Regions from separate parts of the Homo sapiens genome. Here all the other regions are linked to region 2. The links are contacts of gene promoters, found by promoter capture Hi-C in blood cells and fetal thymus (Javierre and others, 2016). All regions are on one chromosome and are shown on one strand. The core of a region is centred on a gene start or on the middle of the fragment in contact, and the rest is flanking DNA. Distances in the headings are between cores, read along the strand shown. Region 1 overlaps CTIF (cap binding complex dependent translation initiation factor). Region 2 holds the start of SMAD7 (SMAD family member 7). Region 3 overlaps CTIF (cap binding complex dependent translation initiation factor). Region 4 overlaps DYM (dymeclin). Region 5 overlaps CTIF (cap binding complex dependent translation initiation factor). Region 6 overlaps DYM (dymeclin). Region 7 overlaps CTIF (cap binding complex dependent translation initiation factor).

Evidence for each region. Contacts are between HindIII fragments. The CHiCAGO score rates a contact against its expected background, and 5 or more counts as called.
Region 1: a fragment that was not itself captured here is called in contact with the fragment with the promoter of SMAD7 in region 2 in 1 of 17 cell types (M1 macrophages); the score reaches 5.1 in M1 macrophages.
Region 3: a fragment that was not itself captured here is called in contact with the fragment with the promoter of SMAD7 in region 2 in 11 of 17 cell types (naive CD8 T cells, total CD8 T cells, M1 macrophages and 8 more); the score reaches 10.1 in naive CD8 T cells.
Region 4: a fragment that was not itself captured here is called in contact with the fragment with the promoter of SMAD7 in region 2 in 3 of 17 cell types (M1 macrophages, M2 macrophages and endothelial precursors); the score reaches 6.4 in M1 macrophages.
Region 5: a fragment that was not itself captured here is called in contact with the fragment with the promoter of SMAD7 in region 2 in 2 of 17 cell types (M2 macrophages and M1 macrophages); the score reaches 8.6 in M2 macrophages.
Region 6: a fragment that was not itself captured here is called in contact with the fragment with the promoter of SMAD7 in region 2 in 1 of 17 cell types (M1 macrophages); the score reaches 5.0 in M1 macrophages.
Region 7: a fragment that was not itself captured here is called in contact with the fragment with the promoter of SMAD7 in region 2 in 13 of 17 cell types (M1 macrophages, M0 macrophages, M2 macrophages and 10 more); the score reaches 8.6 in M1 macrophages.

Annotation. Positions count from the first base shown.
Region 1 is chr18:48,751,238-48,754,897 of GRCh38, reverse strand. All of the region lies in intron 7 of CTIF (cap binding complex dependent translation initiation factor), which reads right to left. Among named protein-coding and RNA genes, the nearest start is that of MIR4743, 82 kb to the right of the region's middle. The HindIII fragment of the contact is 530 bases long and covers 1,974-2,503 here.
Region 2 is chr18:48,949,170-48,953,112 of GRCh38, reverse strand. SMAD7 (SMAD family member 7) reads left to right here and starts at 2,148. Exons shown (of 4, transcript NM_005904.4): 1 at 2,148-3,301. The coding sequence starts at 2,689. RefSeq lists silencers at 65-404, 975-1,674, 2,891-3,210. The HindIII fragment of the contact is 3,263 bases long and covers 1,741-3,943 here.
Region 3 is chr18:48,788,051-48,791,771 of GRCh38, reverse strand. The region is part of intron 9 of CTIF (cap binding complex dependent translation initiation factor); the gene reads right to left. Among named protein-coding and RNA genes, the nearest start is that of CTIF-AS1, 52 kb to the left of the region's middle. The HindIII fragment of the contact is 9,280 bases long and covers 1-3,721 here.
Region 4 is chr18:49,180,485-49,184,146 of GRCh38, reverse strand. The region is part of intron 14 of DYM (dymeclin); the gene reads left to right. Among named protein-coding and RNA genes, the nearest start is that of MIR4744, 130 kb to the right of the region's middle. The HindIII fragment of the contact is 6,459 bases long and covers 1-3,662 here.
Region 5 is chr18:48,718,839-48,722,928 of GRCh38, reverse strand. All of the region lies in intron 7 of CTIF (cap binding complex dependent translation initiation factor), which reads right to left. Among named protein-coding and RNA genes, the nearest start is that of MIR4743, 50 kb to the right of the region's middle. The HindIII fragment of the contact is 9,652 bases long and covers 1-4,090 here.
Region 6 is chr18:49,197,623-49,201,593 of GRCh38, reverse strand. The region is part of intron 14 of DYM (dymeclin); the gene reads left to right. Among named protein-coding and RNA genes, the nearest start is that of MIR4744, 150 kb to the right of the region's middle. The HindIII fragment of the contact is 3,156 bases long and covers 1,132-3,971 here.
Region 7 is chr18:48,768,126-48,771,954 of GRCh38, reverse strand. All of the region lies in intron 9 of CTIF (cap binding complex dependent translation initiation factor), which reads right to left. It overlaps LOC107985147 (a long non-coding RNA gene), which reads right to left. Exons shown (of 2, transcript XR_001753444.2): 1 at 1-3,829. Among named protein-coding and RNA genes, the nearest start is that of CTIF-AS1, 72 kb to the left of the region's middle. The HindIII fragment of the contact is 1,840 bases long and covers 726-2,565 here.

The DNA of each region.
Region 1 (3,660 bases), core at 989-3,488, 200 kb after region 2:
CTGGCTCCTGCAGGGCTTCTGCTGTTCATTCCTGGAAATCTGGAGGGACCTGGAATTCCATGTCTTTCTGGTTCGAAAGAGCTTGGAGCCAGCCAGCCCTGACAATATAGCAATGGCCAAGAATGCCCCAGGCCACTTGGCATTAGTGGGCGTTCTCAGGCTCACCCTTGCTGGGCGGCGGCTCCTTTGCACATGTGGAAAGCCATCCGTAGGTGGGAGGGAAGCCAGGGAGTCCACCTCAAGTGTTCCCTCCTAATTGGGTAGGAAAGACTAACAGGTTCAAAATAAGGAGGTCTTGATATGGAGCTAAATGGCAGATGGAATCAGCTGGGTGAGCCCTGGGAGGGCAGGGAAGAACCCAGATGCCACTGGAGGAAGAGGCACTAAGACTGTCCCTCTGTCCTCCCTTTTCCTTCTTCCTGCACAAGGCCTTGCTTAGTTCTCAGGGTGAGTGATTGCTGGGACTGGCCTCTGTGTGCAGGCAGGCCAAGAACCTTTCTTTCCATTCGACAGATAAGACAACCGAGGCTCCGTGAGGTGCACTCCTACAGCAGAGGGCCTGCCAGGGGCTCCAGGAGTGAGCTAAGCCTGTCAACTAATCACAGCACCTTGCAGCCACCTCCCATCTGTCTCCCATTCGCCTTTAGACACAGCCTCCTTGGCTGATGAACACTCAGGGACAAGGACCGCAGTGACCTGTAGTAATGGAGACAAAGGGCTGAATGGCCACTGAGACCTCGGTGGTGATAACTGCATGAGGTCCAAATTCTTTGCCTGAGAAGGAGCCAAGAGGGCTGCTAAGGGCACTGGAACAGACTTGGAGTTAGGCCTCGTTCCCCAGCAATGGAGACCTAGGCTTCCCTGCTCTGGCCATTCACAAATATTTGTCAGCGGTCGTTGGCTGGGCCAGCCAAAACCAGCTCCTCTCTCTTCTGTATTTGCTGGCGCTGGGTTTCGTCGATACCTTCATTCAGGGGCCAGCTGGCTGCTCCCCACGAAACCTGCGGGTTTGGGGTTTGGCTGGGCCAGGGATGAGCCGCTTTTGCTCCCAGCAACCCGGCAAGGAGGCTGCACTTGGTCTCAGACACATGGACATGTGGGTCCTGGGTTGGGAAACATACTGGACACCCAGTTTTGCAGCCCTGCAAGTAAGAAGGGCAAAAACCCAACTCTCTGCCTCTTTATTTCTGGGGAAGTCTTCTTCGGGTGAGGAAGAACAGCACAGGAGATAAGATTAATATTCCATTTGTGCTACTGGCAACACCTGCTGTTAGGAAAATAATGCTTTTTTTTTTTGGAGAATGGAAATTGTCGGTTTATGCTTTTTCCATCGTTCATTTAGTTTATTCTTTATTCTTTGGGTTCTGAAATCAGATGTCTTGTTTTACTCTAAGACTGCTCTCTTTTATACAAAAAGACAAAAATGTTCTCGGAACACCACAGCTGCATTTTGGGAGGTGGGTGTAGGGAGAATAACTTCAAATTTTGTTTAAAAAAATGGTTTTAACAGCAGTCCAAATGGAGACAAATGTCCCTCTGTTCGTTTTTTATTTCATAATCGTTCCCAACTAGATATTCTGAGTGCCACTGACTTATTATGGTTCTCTCCATGTCGGACATTTTACCACATAATTTGTAGGTCTGCTTAAAAATTTCTGAAAGCAAAATTCCTAGGGCAAGTGGTTTTAAAACTATGCATGGGCTCATATTTCTTGCCTTCAGGAAAAGTGATGACTGCTTATTACCAGCGTAGGCACCTCCACTCCTGCCCACCTACACATGCCCTGAGTGAGCTCTGCCTGCCCTGGCCCAGTCACCTGGGACAACGCAAGGGTTGCGGTGAGGCTCGGAGGCACAGGCACCAACAATTTCTCTGCAGCTCAGGGGCTGCTTAGTCGAGCGATGGCATATAGGACCCAGGAACAAAAGTCGCCACACACACCCACCCCAGTTTGCAGAATGATGGGGAAGCTTAAAAAGGAAAAGTATAAGGGAGGGGAGGTTTTCTTCCCTCATGAGGGAGTCAACCAAGGGACATCATGGTATTGGCTGATGAACACTCAGAGACAAGGATCACAGTGACCTATACTAACGGAGCACCCATGGTGCGCGCAGGGCTGATTCGGATGATGGGTGTCCCCCGCAGGACACTCCTTGCCAGGTCTGTCTGGGGTATGGCAGCCTGCACAGAGCCTGGCACTGTGCCACTCACAGTTGCATGGGCTGGGTGATCTCACCTCTCTGTGTCTCTGTTTCCAGATGTGCCAGTCCCCACCTGAGGGGCAGTTGTAAGGATTACATGAGTCACAGCATGACGGATGAGAAAACCAAGGTCCAGAGAGGTTGCTTTGTCCTTCTAGGGTCGCCCCGCTAGTTAGTGGCAAAGCCCTCACTGGAACTCAGATTTGTGTTTTTGCTGTAACACGCCATATGACTGGATTTAACAATTACTTATTGGAGATCTCAGTGCTCTTTGGAGAACTGGGGGCATCGCTACAAAGCTTAGGCAACACACGGGCCCTGTAATTGCCAGAGCCATCATTATCATGATGGCGGCAACAGCAGCACTGGGCCAGCTACTTCCTGAGCACTCCCTCCTAACAACGCTGAGAGGAGAGGGCCAGCATGCATCAGAAACACTCCTGCCACCGTGGGCGGCCAGCCAAGCTGCAGACTCCCCCACTCCAATAGATTTTGTGGCTCTCTTTGCTCAGAGTTGGGTAGAAAACAATTCAAGATTGAGGTCTTTGCCAGCCTAGGCAAAAGTTCATGTAAGAAGTGTGGTAGCTCACTGCATGGACTAAAAGCTTTAGAAATCAGATGTTTACCTCGCCAAACGATGCTCTGGAATAGATGAAAGGTCTGATTGGTACCTCTGCACCCTACAGGCAAAGACTTTTCTCACTAACTGTAGAATGAATGAATGAATGAATGAATGAATGAATGAATGAATAATAAATGATGCAGAGAAAGGCTGGTTCATTATTGTTTCATTAATTAAACACATGCTGAGACTCTGTTCTGCCCAGAGGTTAATCAGAGATGTCAGTGGGTTTGCCTGAGGCCACATAGCTCCTGCAGCCCTCTGAGAGAAGTTGGGGTGGAGGCAGGGTGTTTGTGTGACAAAGCTGTTCAGCTGTCCCTACAGAGTCCTTCAGCACTCCCCTAATCCTATCCAGGTCTTAAGGTCCAGACCTGAGCAGGAGCCTTCCCCAGCTCCCAGGGTCCTGCCCGAGCCCTCCAGACTCCTGATATGATTACAGTCTGGAATGCCCTACATCACACCCACGTCTCTGCCACCAGAGTGTCTTGTGTGTGCCTCTGAACTGCTCCCAAAGCATCCACTTCCTTCAGATGAGGCAGAACCTTCTCTCTATCTTCCTTGTGGTCTGGGGAGGGGAGGTAGCGATGACTCCAGCGCACAGGGCTGCTGCCTTCATGAAGCTGAGGGTCCATTTGGAGAGACAGATGTGAATCTATTAGTTACAGAAACAGGTCTCTAGCTTTATCCCAGGACAAGAATCACGAAGGAAAGGAAGCAGAGAGCAGCACAGGCCTATGTTCTACTCTGGCCTGGAGGCAGGACTGGCCACATAATGAGCGGAACCCAGTGCAAGATGAAAATGTGGGCCCCTGGTTCAAAAGCTATTGAGAAAGTCA
Region 2 (3,943 bases), core at 899-3,398:
TATATGTTTCTTCGGGACCTGGGGTCAAGGAATAAACTCTCTGACTCTAAGCACCTTGAAAGCTACGAGGCCCAGAAACAGGGCCTGCATGCAAATGAATGCCCTAGGCAGGTCTGCTCGCTGGGTAACCTTCCCGCGCCGGGAGGCAGGGTGGCGGGTGGCGGAGGTCTTCCGGGCCCGGGAGGAAACCTGCCCGCGGCGCGCAGGCGAGCCCCCACCCCCGCTCCCCTTCTCCCGCCGGGATGCTGCCCCTCACAGCTCGTCAGCCGGCCAAATGCATTCCAGAGCTGTGCACAAGACACACTTCTCCAGGCAGTCCTAGAAACCGGAGCCCGGAGCTGAGAGGGCGGGAGGGAGCGCGCGGCCGCCGCTGAGGTCATATTCACGCCGCCTCCCCGCCCTCGGCGGCTGTTCCCCTCAGCGCACACTTCCCAGGGCCTCGGTCCAGTCCGGTATAAATGTCTTTTAAACCGAGACAGCGCTCTCCTCCCCTTGCCCTCGGGCGCGGCCAAGGGATCCACCGCCAGGGCCTTTAAAACAAAACCAATGAATGAAGCGCTAGGGCGAGCGCGCGCGAGATGGCCACCGCGAAACCCAGCCGGGTCGAAATCGGGCCACCGACCCGCTCGCTCAGCTCCAAAACTCGCGGCGAAGCCCGCTCGGTGCTCCCTGCTTTTCCAATTTCTCCATGGCTCCGGCCGGGGCTCAATCCATTCTGGGAGCTTCTCTGCCCCCCACCTATCTCTCTCCCCTCCATCGGTACCCCCTCTACAGACCCGGGAGGGGGTGGCGGTGGCGGGGGGTTGGGGGGAGAAATAGCTTTTAGAAACCCGATCTGTTGTTTGCGAAACACAATCGCTTTTTTTTTTTTTTTAAAGCGACAGGGTGTCTAGACGGCCACGTGACGAGGCCGGAGCCGGGCGCGCCACTGCGCAGTGGAACCAGCCGAGCAGAGGGCCGGAGGGGGGGTGCGGGGGGGCGGGGAGGAGGCGGCGCGGCTGCGGCGGCTGGGGGCGGGGGAGGGAAGGGGGAGGAAGGGGGAGGGAAGGGGGCGGGGGCGGGAGGCCTTGCGGGAGGCGGTGAGCCCCGGGCACACTCGCTTGCTGCTCGGCGCACGGAAGATCCTGTCCCCGAGCCGCGCCAGCCGAGCCAGCCGGGCGCCGTGCTCGGTCCGCTCGCCGCGCGGGAGAGAGCTGCCCGAGACAGAGCCAGTCCGTCGGCGCCGAGCCGCCGAGCGCCCGGCCCCTGAGCCCCTGAGTGCGGCGCGGCGAGCCCCTGGCGGCGGCAGAAGGACCGGAGCGCCAGGAGAGGGCGGACCGGGGACAAGGAGGCTCCCGGGCGCGACGAGGAGAGTCTCGGAGGAGGAGGCGCCGAGAGGACACCGGGGCCTCCTGCCGCCGCAGCTGGGTCGAGGCGAGCAGCCCATGCGGGGAGCCTCGGCGGCCAGCCGCGGCCAGGGGAAGGGACATCGGCGGCCCCTGCACTAGCAAGCAGCTTGTGCCCGGGGGGGGCGAGAACGCGCGACCCGTCTGGGGCCCTCCGCCGCCGCCGCGCCACCCTCCCCCGCGCTGTCAGCCCCGCCGGGCTCAGCCGCCGCCGCAGCATCTTCTGCCCCTGCGCCCGCGCCAGCCTCGAGGAAGTCCCCGCCGAGGACCTGGGCCCCCAGGAGCGCAGGGGGAAAGACCAGAGACTCCCCTAAACCACCCAGATGCGCAGGATTGAAGCGGTCTAGCCAAAGCTTTCTGTGGATTAAAAAAATACACGATTTTTTTTTTTTTTTTTGGCAGAAGAAAAGGAGAGGAAGACCAGCGGGGCTTTGCAAGGAAACGGGGGGATGTAACTCGTGGATACATTTTTCCACCCATCAAACATCTTGTTATACTTTGTAAACATTTTCTTTTTTTAAACCCCAGTTCCAGCCGGACGCCCCCAGACCTCTGAGGTTCGAGGAGGTGGTGGTTTTCATTTGGGGCTTTGCATATTTGGTTGTTAGGTTTTGCGAGAGCCTTCTTATTTTGCCAGACGTCTCATGCGGGGTGAAGTCCACTCGGCCCCCTCCCCTGAGTCTTCGTGTGCGCGGAATTCGAGGAGATCCGGTTACTAAGGATATAGAGGAAAAAAATAAATCGCTTGCTTTTTTTTTTTTAATTGCCTGCTTCTCCCCACCCCCAAATTAAGTTGCTTAGCAAGGGGGAAAGAGGCTTTTTCCTTCTTCCAACAGCCCAGCCGAACGCCTTTCGTTTTTTGCCCCCGCGGACCTTCCATGTAGGAAGCCGAGGCTGGCGAGCCCGACATTCGGGAGCCACTGCGGGGGGGCCTCTTTTTGGGGAGGCGCCGACGGGGGCAGGCTCGGCCGTCCCCAGGGAAGCGGCGGCCGGGTTCCTCCGGGGCGCGCCGGGGCCGGAGAGCCGCGCAGGGCGCGGGCCGCGCGGGGTGGGGCAGCCGGAGCGCAGGCCCCCGATCCCCGGCGGGCGCCCCCGGGCCCCCGCGCGCGCCCCGGCCTCCGGGAGACTGGCGCATGCCACGGAGCGCCCCTCGGGCCGCCGCCGCTCCTGCCCGGGCCCCTGCTGCTGCTGCTGTCGCCTGCGCCTGCTGCCCCAACTCGGCGCCCGACTTCTTCATGGTGTGCGGAGGTCATGTTCGCTCCTTAGCAGGCAAACGACTTTTCTCCTCGCCTCCTCGCCCCGCATGTTCAGGACCAAACGATCTGCGCTCGTCCGGCGTCTCTGGAGGAGCCGTGCGCCCGGCGGCGAGGACGAGGAGGAGGGCGCAGGGGGAGGTGGAGGAGGAGGCGAGCTGCGGGGAGAAGGGGCGACGGACAGCCGAGCGCATGGGGCCGGTGGCGGCGGCCCGGGCAGGGCTGGATGCTGCCTGGGCAAGGCGGTGCGAGGTGCCAAAGGTCACCACCATCCCCACCCGCCAGCCGCGGGCGCCGGCGCGGCCGGGGGCGCCGAGGCGGATCTGAAGGCGCTCACGCACTCGGTGCTCAAGAAACTGAAGGAGCGGCAGCTGGAGCTGCTGCTCCAGGCCGTGGAGTCCCGCGGCGGGACGCGCACCGCGTGCCTCCTGCTGCCCGGCCGCCTGGACTGCAGGCTGGGCCCGGGGGCGCCCGCCGGCGCGCAGCCTGCGCAGCCGCCCTCGTCCTACTCGCTCCCCCTCCTGCTGTGCAAAGTGTTCAGGTGGCCGGATCTCAGGCATTCCTCGGAAGTCAAGAGGCTGTGTTGCTGTGAATCTTACGGGAAGATCAACCCCGAGCTGGTGTGCTGCAACCCCCATCACCTTAGCCGACTCTGCGAACTAGGTGAGAAGTTGTCCCCCTACCCCCAACATTTTCCGGAGCGCCAGTGCTGGAAGAAAAGCCCCTAGGGCAGTGCGTTTGTGCAGCCATCCCTCCAGGGGGAGTGTGCATACCCTCCTGGGAGAGTGTGCATACCCTCCTGGGAGAGTGTGCATACCCTCCTGGGAAGAGACTGGGGGCTGAAAGTAGAGAAGGGACAAGGGGAAACTCAAAGGGCATTCCCTGGGGGTTCCCTTCCAGGTTTTCTCCTGTGTTGCCCCGAAGGGGTCTACGGGCACTGCTCCTGCAGTCTGCGGTTAAAAATTAGACGCCTTCATTTCCGGATCAACAAGGGGGTGCAGAGGGAGGTGGGGGGGTCACGCCTCCCCGCACCCGGAAAGACGTTGAGGTGTGTGGCCGAGTTGGATTTGGTCCAGGCCCGCCAAGGAAGGCTGGGAGAGGCGTGCTATAAAGGCTGGAAGGTCTCCGTATTTACTCCTTTAGTAAATACGGAGAATCACGTCGAACACCAGTGGCCCAGATACTGTCGTGGCCGCGCACCTTTGGAGTTTTGGGGCAAAGAGAGTTGGATGGAAGGCCGAACTGGGTATCTGTCTCCTTTCAACTCTGCCAGCCCCAGGGTGCAGAGGAACAAACAGGCAGGAG
Region 3 (3,721 bases), core at 8-2,507, 160 kb after region 2:
ATTAATCTGGGAGAAGGGATGACTATGAACAGGTTCTGCTGACTCAGGGAAGACACTCACTAGAGAGGCATGGAGGAAGGTGATAAAAGCTACGGTTGAGACGGGGCAGGCTGCTTGGGGCAAGGAGATGCTGTGATTGAGGTGCTGGCCCTCAGGGTCTCTGGGCAAGCCACAGGCACATTCCTGTGTCCACAAACTGGTAGCTCCCACTAAGGGGAGCCCCCAGGGCCAGGCTGAGGCTGGGTGGGAGGGAGGGGCTTCCACTCAGCTTGGGGGCTGGGGGTAGAGGCTGCCCAACCCTGGGCCACTCTCTTCTTTCCTCTGAGTTTCTGGTAGCCCTGCCTGTGTCCCTGCCTGTCTATCCAGAGCCTGCCTTTCTCTTAAAGAAGGAAGGAAATGAAAAAAGAAAATGAAGTGAAACCATGAAAATGACTTAAAAGAGCTTGGGGCTCAGGGCTTGGGAGCCTTAGGTCTTCCATTCTGCTCTGCCTCTATCTTGCTATAGGGCCTTGGGCAAATCACATTTCCTCTTGGGCCTCAGTTTCCTCACCTGTCCAGTGTGGCTCTCATGGTCTGACCAGCCAGCATGCAGGAGGCCTGGGAGCTATCTGTGGACATGTGTCCCTCCTTTGGCCTGGTGTCAACCCCTCTCTGGGCCTGAGCCACAGTGTAGGGCTTGTACAGGGCCTCCCCTTCCTGCCCCAGGTCTGCTCATGACCTCAAAGACAGAGACATGACATTCCTAGGAGGTCTGTTCTGGGTGCCAGGACTCTCCTGAGAAGATGGAGTGAGAAGGTGGACAGGTTTGGGGGCTGAGGGAGAGCAGGGATTGGGGGAAGCTGGCTAGAGGAGGGTCCATGGCCCAGCAGAAGGAGAAGGGCTATCCGGGAACCCCAGCAGGTGAGCCAGCTGACAGAGGCCCCAGGAGGACGTGTTCCCCAGCACGAGGTGGCCTATGACGTGCCTCTCTGATTTCCAGGGTGGCGACTGCAGGCGCCCGTGGCTCCAGCCGGGCGGGGTCTGAAGTGGGAACTTCAGAGCTAGACTTGGCCGCGTTCCTCTGAAATCCCTGGCCTGTGAGAATGAAGGCTGCCGGTCACGTCCTCCCTTCGTCTGCTCCTCCATGAGAGACCTGGCCTCAAGCCTCTGGCCGTTGAGGCCGCCCGTCCAGCTCCCAGTGCTTTCTTAGTCTTTCAGGAAATGTCTCCAGGCCTGGTGGGGTACGTGTGTCCGGGGGATGGGGAGGGGGCTGCTGAGCTGGGCCCAGGCCAAAGGGCTCCATGGGGCGTCCTGTTGGATTTGGCAGCCTGCCCCTTGGTGACTCATGCCTGCTGGCTGTCCCTTAGCCCCATGCCCCCTCGAACTCGGCACTCCAGAAACAGCCTTCTCCCATGGCCCAAGAAGCACCGCTGTAACTCCTTGCCATGGACCTTTGCTCACACTCCCTGCCTGTTGGACACTTCCTCTGTATTTAACCTTCAGCCAAGTGACCCTGGATGAGCTATTTCCCCAGTCTGGGTCTTAGAAAAGGAGGTGGCTGTACTCACAGAGCCTGAGATCCTTATTCCAGAATTTCCCTTTTTGGAAAGGTGGTTCAGCTTCTAGGCTTTCCTTCTCCAAAGGACATACGGTACTGGGGGCGGAACCTCTGTCCTCATTCTACTTCCATCCCTTCCCCAACACCTAGTAGGCAGCCTTAGGCTAACATGGGTTAGCTCCTTTCATCTTCACAATGGCCCCATGGCAATGAAGCTGTGATCATCCCATTTTATAGATGAGACACCTAGGACATAGAGAGGGGAAAAGTACCCTGCCCAAGGTCATGAGGTAGCAGGTGGCAAAGCCAGCATTCAAAGCCAGGGGCCAGGCTCTAGCATCTATACTCTTCACCAGTACCCTACATTCCTAGGAAGCAGCATGGGGTCTCTTATTAGTCTTCCCCACTAGTCTTAAGGTTCCTGAGAGCAAAAAAACAAAGCCCTTAATTTATACTTCTAATTTTGTTCTTTTTTCAAGATTCCTTTGGATATTGTAGGTTTGAGTTTCCATATATATTTTAGAATCAGCTTGCCAATTTCTGCCCAAAAGGCTTAATGGCATCTTGATTTGAGACTGTTGACTCTAGAGACCAATTTAGGAAGAAGTGACATCATACCAATACTGAGTATTCTAGTCCATGAATATGGTATGTCACTGATCTACACTTGACTGTATCTCCCTAGAGTTTCAGACAGGGCTAGACCTATAATATTAGTGCACACCTGATGAATCAAACTGAAATTAAAATTCCTTTCACTATTATCCCAAGCAAAGTCCAATTGAACCATAGCCAACATTATGAGCACTTATTGAGGGCCAGGGTTGTATTATGCCCTTTACTACATTATCTCATTTAATCCCCAGCAATCCAACCCAATCATTATTACCATCCTCATCTTACCAGTGAGGAAACTGAGGCTTGGAGAGAGTAAGAAACCCATTCAAGGTTACACAACTAGTCTGTGACAAAGCTGGGATGTGAACCCAGCCCTTATTGTCATCATGTTATAGGAAAATGAAAATCAGTGACTTTCCCTAAACCCGAAGAAAATGATTTGAGGCTTCTCTGTGATTTGGTACTTCCTGCCAAGGAAGCAATGGTTCAGAGGCCTAGAGTGACTGTACTAAAGGAAGATGAGGCTTGCAGTCCAGGAACATGTCCCATGGGTGCTGAGGGACCTACGTGCACACACCTGCTCTTTGCCACCTTCTTCAGGCTCAGCACAGCACACGTCCTCCTGAGTCTGCCCAGGGTCTCCCAGGCCTAAGAGGTGTGCTATTGGATGGTGGGAATGGGACAGTTTTGGCCATCGTTAACCAGACTCAGTCATGCTCACTCTGATGTCATAGTACCTTTCTAGCATCCGTGTCCACTGTTGGCCTACCTACACCTCTGGGCCGGTGATGAGTTCACACCCACCCTGTACAGAAGTACAAGTGCTTCTTCTCATTTTTTCTGTAGTGACCTCCCCAAGGGAGACCCTTGAGTTTCCCTGTGATGGTGAGAGGGTCTGTGTCCTGTTCCTATTACAGCCACACCTCTGTATTTCCCAGACTTAGGAATCTTATCTTCAAAGGCTGCCACTGTGCCTCTGGCTGTTCCCACTGCTCCCCTGACCTCCTCCAGCTCCATGAGCCCTTCTTAGTAACAAGGCCTCCGGGGGCAGGTATGTGGCCAGGCAGGGGAAAAATGCTTCAGGTGGTGTGGCCCTGGGATACAGGGAGATAGGAGGAACACAGTCACAGGATTCACTGCTGGCACTAAAAGGCCCTCAGTGGCTTCAGGCCACTTATTTACAGGTGAGGAAACCAAGGCTAGGGAGGAAGAGACAGCTTACCCAAAGCTCTCCTAGGAGTCAAGTGTCTGGAATTCTGGCCTGAAATGTTGGTGTCTGCCCCTCCTTGGGGCACCCCAATTGTGTTTTATGTGGGAAGTGCTCAGAATGAAGCTCTATACTCAAAGCTGGGACGCACTGGCCCCTGAGCATGTTTCCAGCTCAGGCTATTGCTGTTACTGATTCTTTCCTACCCCTCTTCTGGGAAAGAGACAAAAACCCCAAATTCAGGTTTCTTCTCCCCCCAGCCTAAAGGCTAGAGAGGGTCGGCCATCCAATTGTCCCCATGGGGATTATCACTGGGAGACTCTGAAAGGGGGGGTCCCAGCTCAAGGTCAGCAAAGCTG
Region 4 (3,662 bases), core at 554-3,053, 230 kb before region 2:
ACTGCCTCATCTTAAACACATCCCTATGTATATTAGTCAGCTCAGGCTCATAACAAAATACCATAGACTGAGTGGCTTAAACAACAGAAGTTTATTTTCTCACTGTTGTAGAAACTGGAAGTCCAAGATCAAAGTGCCAGTAGGGTGGGGTCTAGTGGGGTCTGGTGAGGGCCCTCCCCTTGGGCTGCAGATGGCTGCCTTCTCACTGCGTGTTCACAAGGCCTCTTCTTAGTACGTGCACAGAGAGAGAGATCTGTGGTGTCTCTTTGTATGGAGACACTAATCCTTTTGGGTCAGAGCCTCACCCTTATGACCTCATTAACCTTAATTATTTCCTTATTCCAAATACAGCGATACTAGAGGTTAGGGCTTCAACATAGGAAATTTGGGGGAGACACATACATTCAGTCCCTAACACTGTGCATCCCAAATTATTTCTGAGTTCAGTTCAATTAAATAAACATTTTTTGAGACCCTGTTAAATGTACAGGCACTACGCTAGGCATCAAAGAGGCAGAAGTGAACTATCCCAGGCTCAAGAACTTAATATTTAGTGAAATAAAATGTATATAATTAACTTGAAAATGTGGTAAATATTTTTCTAAGCTACATTTTGAAGGGTGAATCGAAAATTGCCAGGCAGGTTTGTATAGGGGAGGGAAGTGAGTGTAGGCCAAGCAGTTAACGGAGGAACAGAATGGAGTGTGCAGGAATGATGAGCGGACTGATGTGGAGTGAAGTAAAGAGTGATGGGCACAAATTTAGAAGTGCAGGACTGCCTTGTGGTGTTTGTCCTTCCTGATGGTGCCACAACGTTTTCTGGAAAAGTAGCAAGTACCTAATATGTTGATTTTCACAATGAAGGATAAGTTTTAAAAGACTATCAATGACTGGCATTTACAATCTACAATAAGAGACTAGTTGTGCAAATAAAATACAGTGATACAAATCACTTAATTAGTGGGATTAGGTGAATAAAATTTCCCCTCAAATACGTAGTGTTGTATTTAAAAAATCACAGTGAAATTTAAAATACTGTGGTTATCAGAGATGGAAAAAAAATGTGCAATCACCACTTCAAGTAAGGAAAAACATTACATTAAAAATCTTTGGTTTTCTCCAGTGTTCCTTAAGTTTCTACGTAAAATATCTAAAACTGTGGGGTTTTCTTCACACAGATGTTCAAAAATCACTATTCACTTCCAACCAAGATAGAGTAACAGAGACTGGATTTACCCTTCTGCCTGAAACAACAACCAAAACAGACACAGTATATAGAACAGGGACTTTGGAGACACTGGGCATCAGGCAACAAAAGAAACAAATCCCTGAGAGATGTTAGCAATTGAGGGGAGCCCTGTGAGTATTGAGAGTTCCCAGACCACTGTTCAGAATTATAGCTAATAAGCCAACAAATAGAATCATAAAAATACTCAACCCAAAAGAAGGCAGAAAAATGGAAAAAGGGGAAAAAAAGAATCAATAGGACAAATGGAAAACTATAGCAAAAGGATAGATATAAATGCAACCATATCACTAACACCAGCAAAAGAAAGCAGGAGGGACTTATCAGGCAAAGTGACTTCAGAGAGGAAACATCACCAGAATAAAGAAAATTATTTCATAACAATGAAGGAATCAGTGTATCAAGAGGACTATTATAATCCTAAATGTGTACTTTATAACATACACATTTGAAGCAAAAACTAATAAAATTGCAAGGAGAAACAAATTACAGTTATAGTTGGAGCTTTCAATATATCTTTGTTATTAACTAATAGAAAAAGTAGACAGAAAATGAGTAAGAGTGTGGAAGACTTAATGCTATCAAACAACTTCACCTCGTTGACATTTATAGAACACTCCAACCAATAACAGCTCCAGCCAAAACATTTGCATAGGAACATTTGCCAACAAAGACCATATTCTATGCCATCAAACAAGTCTCAGTAAGATTCAGGTTATAAGATTCAAGTCATGGAAAGTTTGTTTTCTGACAACAATGGAATTATAATAGATATCAATAATGGATAACTTTCTGGAAAATCCCCATATATTTGGAAATTAAATAACATACTTCTAAATAATCCATGAATCAAAGAAGAAACCAAAAGCGATTTTTAAACTAAGTGAAAATGAAAATGGAACATATCAAATGTTGTGGGATGGCTGCCACTAAAGCAGTATTTTAAGGGGAAGGTATAGCCTGAAATGCCTATATTGGAAAGAAAGAAAGATCTCAAATCAGTGACTTCAGCTTTCACCTTAAGAAACTAGAAAAAGAACAACAAATTAAGCCCAAAATAAAATAAAAATAATAAAAAGCAGGAATCACTGATATAGAAAACAAATGCAGTAGATAAAATTAAAACCAAAAGCTCATTCCTTGAGAAGATCAACAAAAATGATAAACCTTTGGCCAAGATTGTATGTGGAGTAATTTTGGGCTGTATCTTGAACATATGATGGTTACACAGATTAGGTATCCCTAATCTAAAAATCCAAAATGCTCCAAAATTCAGAACGTTTTGAGCACCGACATAATACTCAAAGGAAACATTCACTGGAGCATTTTGGATTTCAAATTTTTGGATTTGGTATGTTCACCTGGTAAGTATCATGCCAATATTCCAAAATTTGCAGGAATTCAAAATTAAAAACACTTCTGGTTCCAAGCATTTCAGATGAAGGAAATTCAACCTGTATTGTGGGGACTCTGGACAATTCTATTATAAACCAGCTGGTTTGTGTCTCGTAAAACAGAATAACATGTTCTCTTTACTGGGGGATCAAGGATTAAATTAAAATGCATTTATGTAAAAATTAAAGATTTTTTCATTGGCATATAAATATAGTTCTGAGTGATCTCAAAATCATGCTGTTCCACGGAAACATTCATTTTGCTTTGGGTTTCTCTCATAAATCATCTTAACTTTTATCCTTGACTTTTTCTTACCAGAGCACATCTCTTTTGTTTAAAATACCCATCTAACTCCAACACGACCTTGACTCTAGATGGTTTGCTGCATTTCATGACGTGGTATTTCCAGTGATTCTCCAAATCAGAAACTGCATACTAACGGCCTGCAGCCTGGACTCAGGCTAGAGAGGTGCTGTGTTTGGTTTGCACAGTTTTTTTTGTTTGTTTGGTTTTGGTTTTTTGAAGTTAGAATTTGTTGCTAACATATAACAAGTTGGAATAGCTGGCAATGCAGAGCCCACAGTCCTCCATGCCAGAAATCAATTGGAACTGAATGGTGACTTTTTCCATAGGTTCTCTCTTAAGGGTTTTTACATTAATTCCCTCAATTTAACCATCACAGCAACTCTTAACTGCCACCATCATTATCACCAAGTATAAGGAAACTGAGTCTCAGAAAAATTAAGTGTCAGAAATCCCATGAGCTATTAAATGGAGGAGTGGGTGTTTAAATACAAATGTGTCTGAATTAGCCTATATTCCTTTCTGCATAACATCAAAAATGAGGTTATTTTATCTTTCAGTTGAAAAATCATTGGTATCCATAAATATTATATGATGCTAGCTGTAGTGCCCCAGGTATCAAGTTTATCATGTTAAATTGTGCAAGGTTAAAATTTACAATCATTTATCAATTTTCTTTAAGTTCCTTAATGTGGAGTTTACCATAGGCTACTTTCTC
Region 5 (4,090 bases), core at 1,325-3,824, 230 kb after region 2:
TTGGCAGAGGGTGGGCCAGGCTTGCCTGGGAGTCTAGCGAAAAAGACCCTCAGAACCAGTGGGATGCACAGCCTGCTACATCAATGAGTACAGCCAAGTGCTTACACCTATGAGCGCCGATGGGTATGGCCGGGTGCTTACACCTGTGAGCGCCGATGGGCACAGCCGTGTGCTTACACCTGTGAGCGCTGATGGGTACGGCCGGGTGCTTACACCTGTGAGCGCTGATGGGTACGGCTGGGTGCTTACACCTGTGAGCGCTGATGGGTACGGCCGGGTGCTTACACCTGTGAGTGCCGATGAGTACGGCCGGGTGCTTACACCTGTGAGCACCAACAGGTATGGCTGGGTACTTACACCTGTGAATCTTGCGGTCCTGGGCAGCATACGATCTCAAGAGGACAGAGAGGCTGGGTGCTGTGGCTCATGCCCTTAATCCTAGCACTGTGGGAGGCTGAGGTGAGAGGATTGCTTGAGGCCAGGGGTTCAAGACCAGCTTAGGCAACATGGCAAAACCCTGTCTCTATAAAATAAAAAATAAAAAATTTAGCCAAGTGTGGTGGCACGTGCCTGTGGTCCCAGTTACTTGGGAGGCTGAGGTGGGAGGATCACTTGAGCCCAGCAGGTCGAGGCTGTCGTGAGCTATAATTGTGCCACTGCAACTCCAGCCTGGACAACAGAGTGAGATCCTGTCTCACAAAAAAAAAAAAAAAAAAAAAAAAGCACAGGGCCAGGAGTATGAGGCTTAGCCTAGTATGACTGTGTGCCAGATCTGGGGAAGGAAAAATATACACAGGGGCAGCAGGCATGGCTGCCTTTCTAGAACCTTCTGGACAGGGCACATGGGCTGAGCTGAAGATACACGAGACACTGGTTATTTGCACTGAAAGCCCTGGCCAGCCTCCAACATGTCTTTCAGAACTGTCTTTCCCATCCCATGGTTAAGGAATGGAATATCCCTGAGAAGTGTCCCTTTTCATCTTCACCTCGCACTCTCTCTAATACATTGTAGAGCTGAAATCAGAGCCCTATTTTATAGCTGAGAAACTGTGTACCCTTAAAGTGTAAGAGAATTGCTCTGAACCACACCACAAGTATGAAAATCCAGATTCCATGACTTCTGGTCCAGTGTTCTTTTCTTCCTGCACAGGAGTGAGTGTCAGGACAGAGAGGGGGGGATGCACGTTCTCTGAGGTTAGACTCAGAGCCGCACACAGGGTCAGGACTTCCCTCGTATCTGCCATCACATGGCATCTAATGGCATCCCTGTAGTCTGCACAATGGTGTCCTTGGGGACATAAGAAGAATGGTTTGTCCAGGGCCCAAGATCCCCTGGCTGGTGAGAGATGAGCTCGTCTTGAAGCCAGTGAGCCTCGCCCTGGGCCTGGGCTGCCCACCAGACACACTGTCCCCGGGGAGGGCTGGGCTGGCTTGGTGCCAGAGGCCAGGTTGCTTGGGGCTCCGGAGAGGAATGAAGGGTTGGGTGTTAGTGTTTGTGAGCCAATCCTCAAATGCCTAGCATTTCAGTAGAGACTAGACCTCTGAGGAGGAATGAAACCAGCTTGGGTGGCTGGTTCCCAAGGCGTCCATTCTACGTCCCATCCTAGACGCAGACCTTGGGGAAATGGCATTTATCTCTCCAGGGCCAGTTTCTCAGGGAGCAGCCCTCCTGTCCTGCAGGTAACTAGACATGTGCCCCTACGTCCTCTTCAGTCACCTTTCTTGTCATTGGGTCTCCCTTTGCTATTTAGGGCTTAAGGGGTCTGAAGGAATTCTAATTGCTGGGGAAAAGGGGATTATTGTGATCGAGAAAGAGTAGTACTCTGCTCTCCAACTGTGGGCACAGAACTAGGGGATGCCCACTGCCTGGTGGGCACAGGGGGTTCCAGGGCTCTGCCAAAATGAGCTGTAGGCAACCTCTTTTCTTACCCATTTGTCCCCCGCGTGGATGTGGGTCCCGATGGGAGAGAACCCCCAGAGCCTTGTATTCCCATGAAGTGTGATGCTGGGAGGAAGTCCTGAGCATGGGGATCGGGGGAAGGTATATCCCTCATGGGTGAGTTGTGGGCCAGCCTCAACAGGGCCACTCTCTGCAGCTTGTTCTGCCCAGGAGTGCGGCCTGAGGCAGCTGCACTGTGCAAAGGATTATTGGGACCATCATGATTTGTACAAAGCGTGGGGCTTTCTCTGGGTGTATCAGGGGCTCCATTTCAATCAAGCATGGACCTGGACATCTGGCTTGAAGAAATGAGCTGCTCTTCTTTTCAAGAGAGAGCCTGCTTGGGGGTGGGCGTGAGGGAGGAGGAGAAGGATCCTAAAAATAATTCTTATCTGACTCATTTTGCTTAGAATCTGACAGGGCTGCCTGCCAGGTGGGGGTTTGCCTGTCCCATTTTCTTATCTATCTTTAGCAGGGACTTAATGAGGGCAATTTCCTTGCTGGGATGGAAAGACAAACCGTGGGCAAAGTGAGCATAGATCTGTCTCGCGGTCCCTGGGCTCGGATGACAGGATGGCAATGACAGTCACTGCAGGGCTGAGCTGTCTGCGAGGGCCTCAGCAACAGTGGCATCCCAGCATGGTGCAAATGAAGCAGTGATAGGCTCAGTCAAACCATGCAGGACAATGACCACTGGAAGAAGCATCCCCCCCGTCCCCATCTCATCCCCTAGCGAAGCTACCACCACACACGAACAAGATAAATCACTCAGACCTAAGATCCTGTTGCCTACAACATACTTCTTTATCTTCAGCATCTCTCTACTCTGTTTTAAAGAGCAAGTACGGTCACTTCTCATTATTTATGGTAGTTGCATTCCATAAAGTTGCTGCAAATACTGAATTAGTGAATACTGAACTATTACTCCTAGGGGAAATGCGGGGTTTGGTTCCTGCAAGCCTCTGGTCACAACATTTTCACCACTGGATCAATACATAACCTCGTTTTGTATGTGTTTCTGTTTAAAGAAACCTTATTTAATACATATTGTTGATTTATTAACATTGAACTCACGGCCAACAGCACTATAACTCATGCCTGAGTGATGCTTATCTAACACACACATTTTCTCCGGAAGGCACATCACAGCCTCCTTGCGCTTAAGAACAGTAGACGGCACTTCAGTACTATGTTTAGGAGCCATTTAAAATAGCAAATTCACCAAGGAAAAGCACAAAAATGTGAAAAACATGGCAGTAAACAGAACCATGAGAAGGGTGCTTGCTTATACTATGAGAGCTGAAACAAGGAGGCAGAGTGTTACTTTGGCCTGGACTGGGATCTTGCAGGTCAGGCAACTCAAATTTTTCACTGTTTGTGTGTCAATGACTGACTGCAAAAACACCATGAGTATTGAGTGCGGTGTTACAAATAAGTTTTACAAGTAGGCGAATGTGCAAATATGAATCAATGAGTAATAAGGATGGACTGCACTTCCAAAAGAGCTATCTTAACAACTCATGTGAATGAGCTGATGTATAGATATAGGACTCCGACTAGGTTAATTCCTCATCAGTTCCCGGTGGGCAAGATCTGGGGGACCTGGTCATTTTTGTAGGATGTGGGACTCTATGACTGGTAGAGTGTTCTGAGGTGCTAAAAGGAGCAGCAAGTTCCAGATAGCAGCTGTGACTTAAAGAGAGGGATGTCGAGAGGCACTTGGTATCCCCCAGAGTCCTTGCCCATGAGCCCACATGTGAAAAGGAATGTGGGGCCTCCTGTAGTCACAGATGACCATCAAAGCCTGGGATACAGAAGCCACAGCAGTGTCAAGGAATGGGGCTTAAAAATATTAAAGACAATTCTAGAAGCATATTTTCGTATTGAGAGTGAGAAGTCAGAGGGACACATGAGGCTACTGATGGGGCAGACAGCGTAGAATTAAGAGGTGGCAAAAAGAAAGCAGACCTCTCCCACTCCAAGTTTGCCTTCTGCAAGAGAACAGGTACCAGCCCAGAAAAGGCAGCTGCAGTTGCCGCATCTGTCAGACGCTGAGGGCCTGGAAGACTCCACGGAGAGCAATGGGTGCTCTGAGTGCTCACCTTCATGCCTCGGGAATGGGGCGATATTGATATTGATTGGAGTAAAAGA
Region 6 (3,971 bases), core at 1,460-3,959, 250 kb before region 2:
TCGAGGGCCTTGAATGCTAGGCCAGGCCATTTCATGTATTTTATTTGTTCTGGCTTTTTTTGTGTATGATTTTGGTAGCCCATTGAGTTTTACTTGGTGCTTTTGAGCCTGACTGATGTGGTCGAAGCATGCTGCGTCTGATGACTGTCATGCATTTAAATGAACCTGAGGTGAAAGAATCTGAATTTAGGTAATAGACCAACACATAGACTACCTGATTGTGGCAGTAGAGATGGAAAAAGAAGGACTTAATGGAGGTGAACTTTGAAAAAAAAAGGAATTGAAGTATGATATTGAGAGAACATAATTCAACATTGAAATGGTGTAGTATGAAATATTAGTAGGAACTGTGTTATTACTTCTGTGCATGTAGTTAGTTCCTATCAACATGGCAAATATTTAGTATGTATCATTTGTGTGGTTTATATTTTATACTGTAAGAGGAGTGTGCTAGGGGTATTCTTATTACCGATACTCATATTAAAAGCTTTGTGTAATCAGTTGGTAAAAGAATGATTTTTTAAGAGTGAAGATTTTTTGAACTGTCCAACCATTTAAAAATTTGTTATACTAAAGATATAGCATAATACGTGATTCTGGATTATTTTCCAGCCATACAATGCAATACAAAGAATGGCGATTCAAGAGATCTGTTTCACAACATGGTGATTATTGTTAATAACAATGTATTGTATACATGAAAATTGCTAGGAGAGTAGATCTTTAAGTGTTCTTACCACAAAGAAGTATGTGAAGCAATTAATATGTTAATTTGCCTGATTTAATCATTTCCACAATGTATACATATATCAAAACATCATTTACATCATAAATATATATAATTTTTGTCAATTAAAAAATTTAGTAATGAAGATAGTGGATTCTATAAAGAAATATGCTAGAAGTATTTACCAAAAGTCATTAAAATGTTAATATATTGGAATTTATCTTAAGGGAAGAACTTAACCTAAAGAAAGGGTTATATTTAGGAACAAAATAGAAGAATGGTCAAATAAACTATATCCTATCAACTCAATGGAATATCATACAGCCATTAAAATATTATAAAGAAAAATAAGTAGAAATATGGAAAACATTTGACATAATGTTTATGAAAAAAGAATATAAGCTTCTATACTGCTATTTTCTATTTTTAGTAGTTATATTTGATATAATGTTTAATGAAAAAAATATAAAATTATATACTGCTATTAAAACAACTACATAAAAATTATGTATGTGTCCAAAAACCAGATAATGTATAAAAATAGCTGTGGAACAATAGTAAAATGTACATGACATTTCTTTTTAAAATTATTTAAAATTTATCTTTTACAAATTAAAAAAATTATGCAAATTTAAATAAATTTTTTCTCTCACTTTTCTCTACCCTCCTCCCAACCACCCCTAAGTTACATGTATGTCTTTGGATTTTCTTTCCTTTTTTCCCTCTACTAACATAATGCAATGCCACTTTATTAATTGGCAAAGAACTGCGGTGGTTTACAGGATTAGATAGGAGTTCCTCAGTATGATCACAGAGAATTTCTCCCATGGTTTATTTTAGAACTTTCATAGATTTGCTTTTTTTCTTCTTTTTTTTTCTTTTCTTTTTAACTGAATGGATTTATAATTCTAAGTACGTGTAATATGAAATCATTTTTATATCTCAACTGTAGCACTTTCAAATTTAGGAATACTTTTACCCATTTGTCATGTCTTTTATACTGTGCTTTAAAAAAAATCACATCTGGTGCCATTTTATTACTTTCAAAGGATTGCATCTTCAGTCTAAATCTAAGACAAAGCTCTAATGAGTTTCCTCAAAACAAGTTTTAAAAATTGCTGGAATGGTCTTGTCATATAATATGCTATTCACTTAATCTGTAATGAATAAATACTTGAAGCTATAGTAATAATTTTTCATGCATATGATACTGTCGTAATAATTCTGTTGTGGCTGTGCTTTATTGATTTCTGTGCCACTTCTGTGGCATGAAATGAAATGTATTATCCCACTTAAACCATTATGGTTTCCTTTTGAATTACATATTCATTACTTGATCCTGTCATCAAGCCTATTCTATTTTCCATAATGTGGTATTCAGTCTTAAAGATTTACAGCGTTAGTCAGTGCAGTATAAGTCAAAATAGGACAAGTAAATTCAGATCAGAAAAGTTGGTAAGAAAATGTAATAGATAAATTTTTTTATTTAATTATACTTTAAGTTTTAGGGTACATGGGCACAACGTGCAGGTTTGTTACATATGTATACATGTGCCATGTTGGTGTGCTGCACCCATTAACTTGTCATTTACATTAGGTATATCTCCTAATGCTATCCCTCCTTTCTCCCCCCACCCCACAACAGGCCCTGGTGTGTGATGTTCCCCTTCCTGTGTCCAAGTGTTCTCATTGTTCATTTCCCACCTATGAGTGAGAACATGTGGTGTTTGGTTTTTTGTCCTTGTGATAGTTTGCTGAGAGTGATGGTTTCCAGCTTCATCCATGTCCCTACAAAGGACATTAACTCATCCTTTTTTATGGCCACATAGTATTCCATGGTGTATATGTGCCACATTTTCTTAATCCAGTCTATCATTGTTGGACATTTGGCTTGGTTCCAAGTCTTTGCTATTGTGAATAGTGCTGCAATAAACATACGTGTGCATGTGTCTTTATAGCAGCATCATTTATAATCCTTTGGGTATATACCCAGTAATGGGATGGCTGGGTCAAATGGTATTTCTAGTTCTAGATCCCTGAGGAATCGCCACACCGACTTCCACAATGGTTAAACTAGTTTACAGTCCCACCAACAGTGTAAAAGTGTTCCTATTTCTCCACATCCTCTCCAGCACCTGTTGTTTCCTGACTTTTTAATGATTGCCATTCTAACTGGTGTGAGATGGTATCTCATTGTGGTTTTGATTTGCATTTCTCTGATGGCCAGTGATGATGAGCATTTTTTCATGTGTCTTTTGGCTGCATAAATGTCTTCTTTTGAGAAGTGTCTGTTCATGTTCTTCACCCACTTTTTGATGGGGTTGTTTTTTTCTTGTAAATTTGTTTGAGTTCTTTGTAGATTTTGGATATTAGCCCCTTGTCAGATGGGTAGATGGCAAAAATTTTCTCCCATTCTGTAGGTTGCCTGTTCACTCTGATGGTAGTTTCTTTTGCTGTGCAGAAGCTCTTTAGTTGAATTAGATCCCATTTGTCAATTTTGGCTTTTGTTGCCATTGTTTTTGGTGTTTTAGACATGAAGTCCTTGCCCATGCCTATGTCCTGAATGGTATTGCCTAGGTTTTCTTCTAGGGTTTTTATGGTTTTAGGTCTAACATCTAAGTCTTTAATCCATCTTGAATTAATTTTTGTATAAGGTGTAAGGAAGGGATCCAGTTTCAGTTTTCTCCATATGGCTAGCCAGTTTTCCCAGCACCATTTATTAAATAGGGAATCCTTTCCCCATTTCTTGTTTTTGTCAGGTTTGTCAAAGATCAGATGGTTGTAGATGTGTGGCACTATTTCTGAGGGCTCTGTTCTGTTCCATTGGTCTATATCTCTGTTTTGGTACCAGTACCATGCTGTTTTGGTTACTGTAGCCTTGTAGTACAGTTTGAAGTCAAGTAGCGTGATGCCTCCAGCTTTGTTCTCTTGGCTTAGGATTGACTTGGCGATGCGGGCTCTTTTTTGGTTCCATATGAACTTTAAAGTAGTTTTTTCCAATTCTGTGAAGAAGGTCATTGGTAGCTTGATGGGGATGGCATTGAATCTTTAAATTACCTTGGGCAGTATGGCCAGTTTCATGATATTGATTCTTCCTACCCATGAGCATGGAATATTCTCCCATTTGTTTGTATCCTCTTTTATTTCATTGAGCAGTGGTTTGTAGTTCTCCTTGAAGAGGTCCTTCACGTCCCTTGTAAGTTGGATTCCTAGGTATTTTACTCTCTTTGAAGCAATTGTGAAT
Region 7 (3,829 bases), core at 396-2,895, 180 kb after region 2:
TCAGCCCAGGCGGTGCCAGCTTTCCAGCGGCAGCCACGGCAGGTAGAGGCGCCCTGTCTGGGCCGGCCGTGCCCGGGCAGGGCAGAGATGCTGCGATCTGGAGCCGCTTAGCATAGCTCAGATTCCCCGCGGCGGCTGGGGGCCGGCCGCTCACAGAGCTGGGGGGAAGGATCTGCTGTCTCCTGCCTGCCTGGCTCCGGGGAAGGAGGAGGAGGAGGTGCTGGGGGTGAGCTGCCAGCCAGCCAGGGGTGACCCTCTGGGGCCTGGGACACCCGAGCTGGCCTTCTCCGGTAACCCACTTATCTGCAGGGCCTGCTTCGGCGTGGCAGCCTCAGACAGGGCAGTGCCCGGCCAAGTTCTATCAGGGGATTTAGCAGGGAAAATGAACCCTGGGTGGGGGGTGAGGGCATGCAGGGAAGGGGACACGGTCTGGCAAGGGACACGGGTGATGGTGAAATAATTCCTGACCTGGGTAAAGCTCTCCTGGCCCAGAAGCGAGAGGGAGAAAACCCCAGGCCATTCCCTTTTGTGGCTGTGGCCTGTGCTATTCCCATGCCTGCCTATCCATGCTCCTTCCTCCCCAGTGAAGGAAGCTCCTGGAGCCAGCCAGCTGATGCCTGATGAATACCTTGTGGGTACCAGTATGGTGGTGGGACACAAAGATGACCCAGACGCATTCTTTGCCCCAAGACATCCACAGATACAAGTCTCAGATAAGAAAAGCTTAAACAGGGGAGCCCAGAAGACTTCATGAAAGGGACACATGGTAAATGTTCAAGAGTCAGAGGAAGGTGAGGTCCCTGGGCTGGGAGATCAGGGAAGGTTTCCTGGAGGAGGCAGATTTGACTAGGAGGAAGAGTACACCTGTCAATCCTGGGCCCACCGCCCAGGAAGACAATAGTCTAAAAGCACTCATTGCCTGCCCTCATTGTTCCACATTTAATCAGCGTAGGGGGGGGAAATGGAAATGCTGCCCAAGACTGAGGCATGGGGTGGTCTTTGGGAATCTAGGATGGGATAAAGTTAGAAGGGCCTCCCAGTTCATCCCACCAGGGCAGGGCACCCACACTGATGGAGCCATCCGAGTGGTGTGGCTCAGAGCTGGGGTCCGTGCATGCATTACCTCATTTAAGCTCTACCACAACCCAATCATCCCTTGCAGGACGGAAACGTGGGTGCAGAGACATGTTTTAAATGCTCAAGATCAGCATCGAGGCAGCAATCGATGCTACTGCACAGGTTTGCTACTCCTCAGGCCTCAGCGTTGCTGCCTCAGGGCAAGAAATCCTGTCTAGAGAAATGAGATTCGGGGGCACGACCCACACCTGTCTGCTCCAGATGGCCCAGCTGACCTGATTCATGAAGCTGCAGGCTGGTCTTGCTCTCCCCTCCTGAGCCACCCACGCTCCTAACAACACAGGGCAATGGCCACTTTTCACGGGAAAGGAGTGACTTTTGTCCAAGGCTCCCTCAGCCTCTGCACATCTAGAGTCTCTGACAAGGCCTGCAGTAGACTGCCCATGAGACTTGTAAAAGCCCATGCCGTGCACAGAAAGGCACTTTGGGCTTTCTCAGGAGCGGGGCTCTCTGTGATTTTGAAGAACACAGTAGTGGCGCAGTGGCGCAGTGGCACAGTGGCGCAGTGGCAAAGAGGCAGGAAGCTGGGCACTTGGTTTTGCAGGAAGCTCACTGGTCCCTGGGGGCCTGGGGCAGTAGTTGGCACAGCAGCAGCACCCAGGCCCCCCTGATGATATGATGACTGGACACCTGGCATGCTGCTGTTCTGGGCACTTTCCAGGACTGGCTGAGGATCAGTGGTCATTTTCTTTCCTCGCTTATTTTCAGATTCAAAAATCAAAATGCTTGTTTATGATCCGGTCATCGGCTGCTCTGTCTCACTGAGCACTTCAAAGCTCCAGAGAGAACCACAGGCTTAGCACTCCTGGAAGCCACATGTTCCCCCGCCCCACCCAAACTGAACAGTCAGGGCGATCTGGTCTAAGCACTGACATTGAGGTATCCCACCTGGGTCCTTGAATGCAATGCTTAAGATTTGCACAAACAGATTGAAAGACCACAGTGGAGGGCAAATGAACAGAGACATACAGGACCTGCCACAGTGCATGGTATATAGCAGGTGCTCAATAAGCGTTGAGAAGAAATAAAGATTGGAGAAAAGCAGGTCATATTTACTCATCCCAAAGCAAGTGCAGACAACAAGATTGGCAACGAGGCACACGGCTCCTATCCACTGTGGCTCTGGCCGCAGGGGCAAAGAACATGGATAGGAGTCAGGCATTGGCTCTTCCTGTTGGGGGAGCCCAGGGCTGCCACAGAATCCTGGGCAGGGGTCAAGCTCCTGTGACTGCTGGCCTCCTGTGATGCCAGGCCAGCCTGACGAGGCCTGTTGGTGCCCACCTTCAGGGAAATGTGTGTGCCAACTCTGCATGTCCCTTGCAGGGCACGGGCTTCAGCATGGGGACAGATGGCCCACAGGGGGCAGGGCGGGAGCTCAGATGCCAGCCATTTTTAGAAAAACAGCCCTTTTCTGGGCTTTTGCAAGCTTCCGTGCAGCCTGCCCACGGGGAAAGCGGCTTGCACTGCCTCTGGCCCTTTGCTTCAGCCTTTCTGATTTCTAGCAACTAGTGGAGGGGAGCTCGATGTGGGTATGGCCAGGGCTTTTGCTCAAGCTTTGGAATGCACAGAACAATGTGCTTCTATCCCTGGGTGTGCCTGGCTTGGGCCAACATTAAAATTAGTTTACATGCCTGGAGTGCACATCGGCTCAGCGGTGGGTGTGCAGAAATGAGGGAGGGGGTCTGAGAAGAGGGAGAGGATGCAAGGAGGAGATGGGAACTGGGGCCAGCAGCCTGTGTGGTTTCACAGGGACTAGGGCGAATGGAGAGTGCAGGGGTTTCTTCAGGTACCCTTGACCTCCAGAGGCCCAGAAAGCTCAGAGACTCAGCGACCCCTGGAAACACAGTGGGATTATTCCACAGGGTGGATTTTGAAATCCCAATTGATGACTTCCTGAGATGGATTCTTTTTTGTTTTTTAGAGTCTCACTCTGTCGCTCACACTGGAGCGCAACAGCAGGGACCTAGCTCTCTGCAGCCTTGACTCCTGGCCTGAATGGATCCTCCTGCCTCAGCCTCTGGAGTAGCTGGGGCTTCAGTAGCAATGCTGCCACACCTGCCTATTTTTTTTTTCAAAGATGGGGTCTTTTTATGTTGCCCAGGCTGGTCTCAAACTCCTGGCCTCAAGCAATCCTCCTGCCTTGGCCTTGCAAAGTGCTGGGATTACAGGCATGAGCCATTGCTCCCAACCATGATATGGATTCTTGATTTTCCCAAGTTTTTGAGCCTTACACCCTATTTAGGATGTGGCATGGCATCCAGAAGCTCCAGCTAGCCTCGTGATGCTGGGTCAATCTTGCAGCCTCACTGAGCCACTTTCCCCATGTATAAGCCTGGGGAGGGATCCCTGCCCTGGAACCTACCTCCGATTCACACACAGGAAAGTGCTCAGAAGAGTTTCAAAGCCCCTCATGCCCCAGAGAGCATTGGTACCCATGACTGATGGCTCCATGCCTCCCTTCCACAGCCATTTCCTGAGCATCTACTATGAACCATGAAGCCAGGAGCTGGGGACAGCCGATAACTCAGCCAGGATTCTGGCCATCTAGGAGTTTAAAACTTAGACTCCAGGAATCGATATCAGTCTCCCTCCTCCCTTCCTATGTAAAAGATAAGAGTTAGGAACTTCAAACTTCTGACAAAGGGGAATGACTTGATTTTCCAGAGACCTTGAGAGAATCACAAGAGAACGA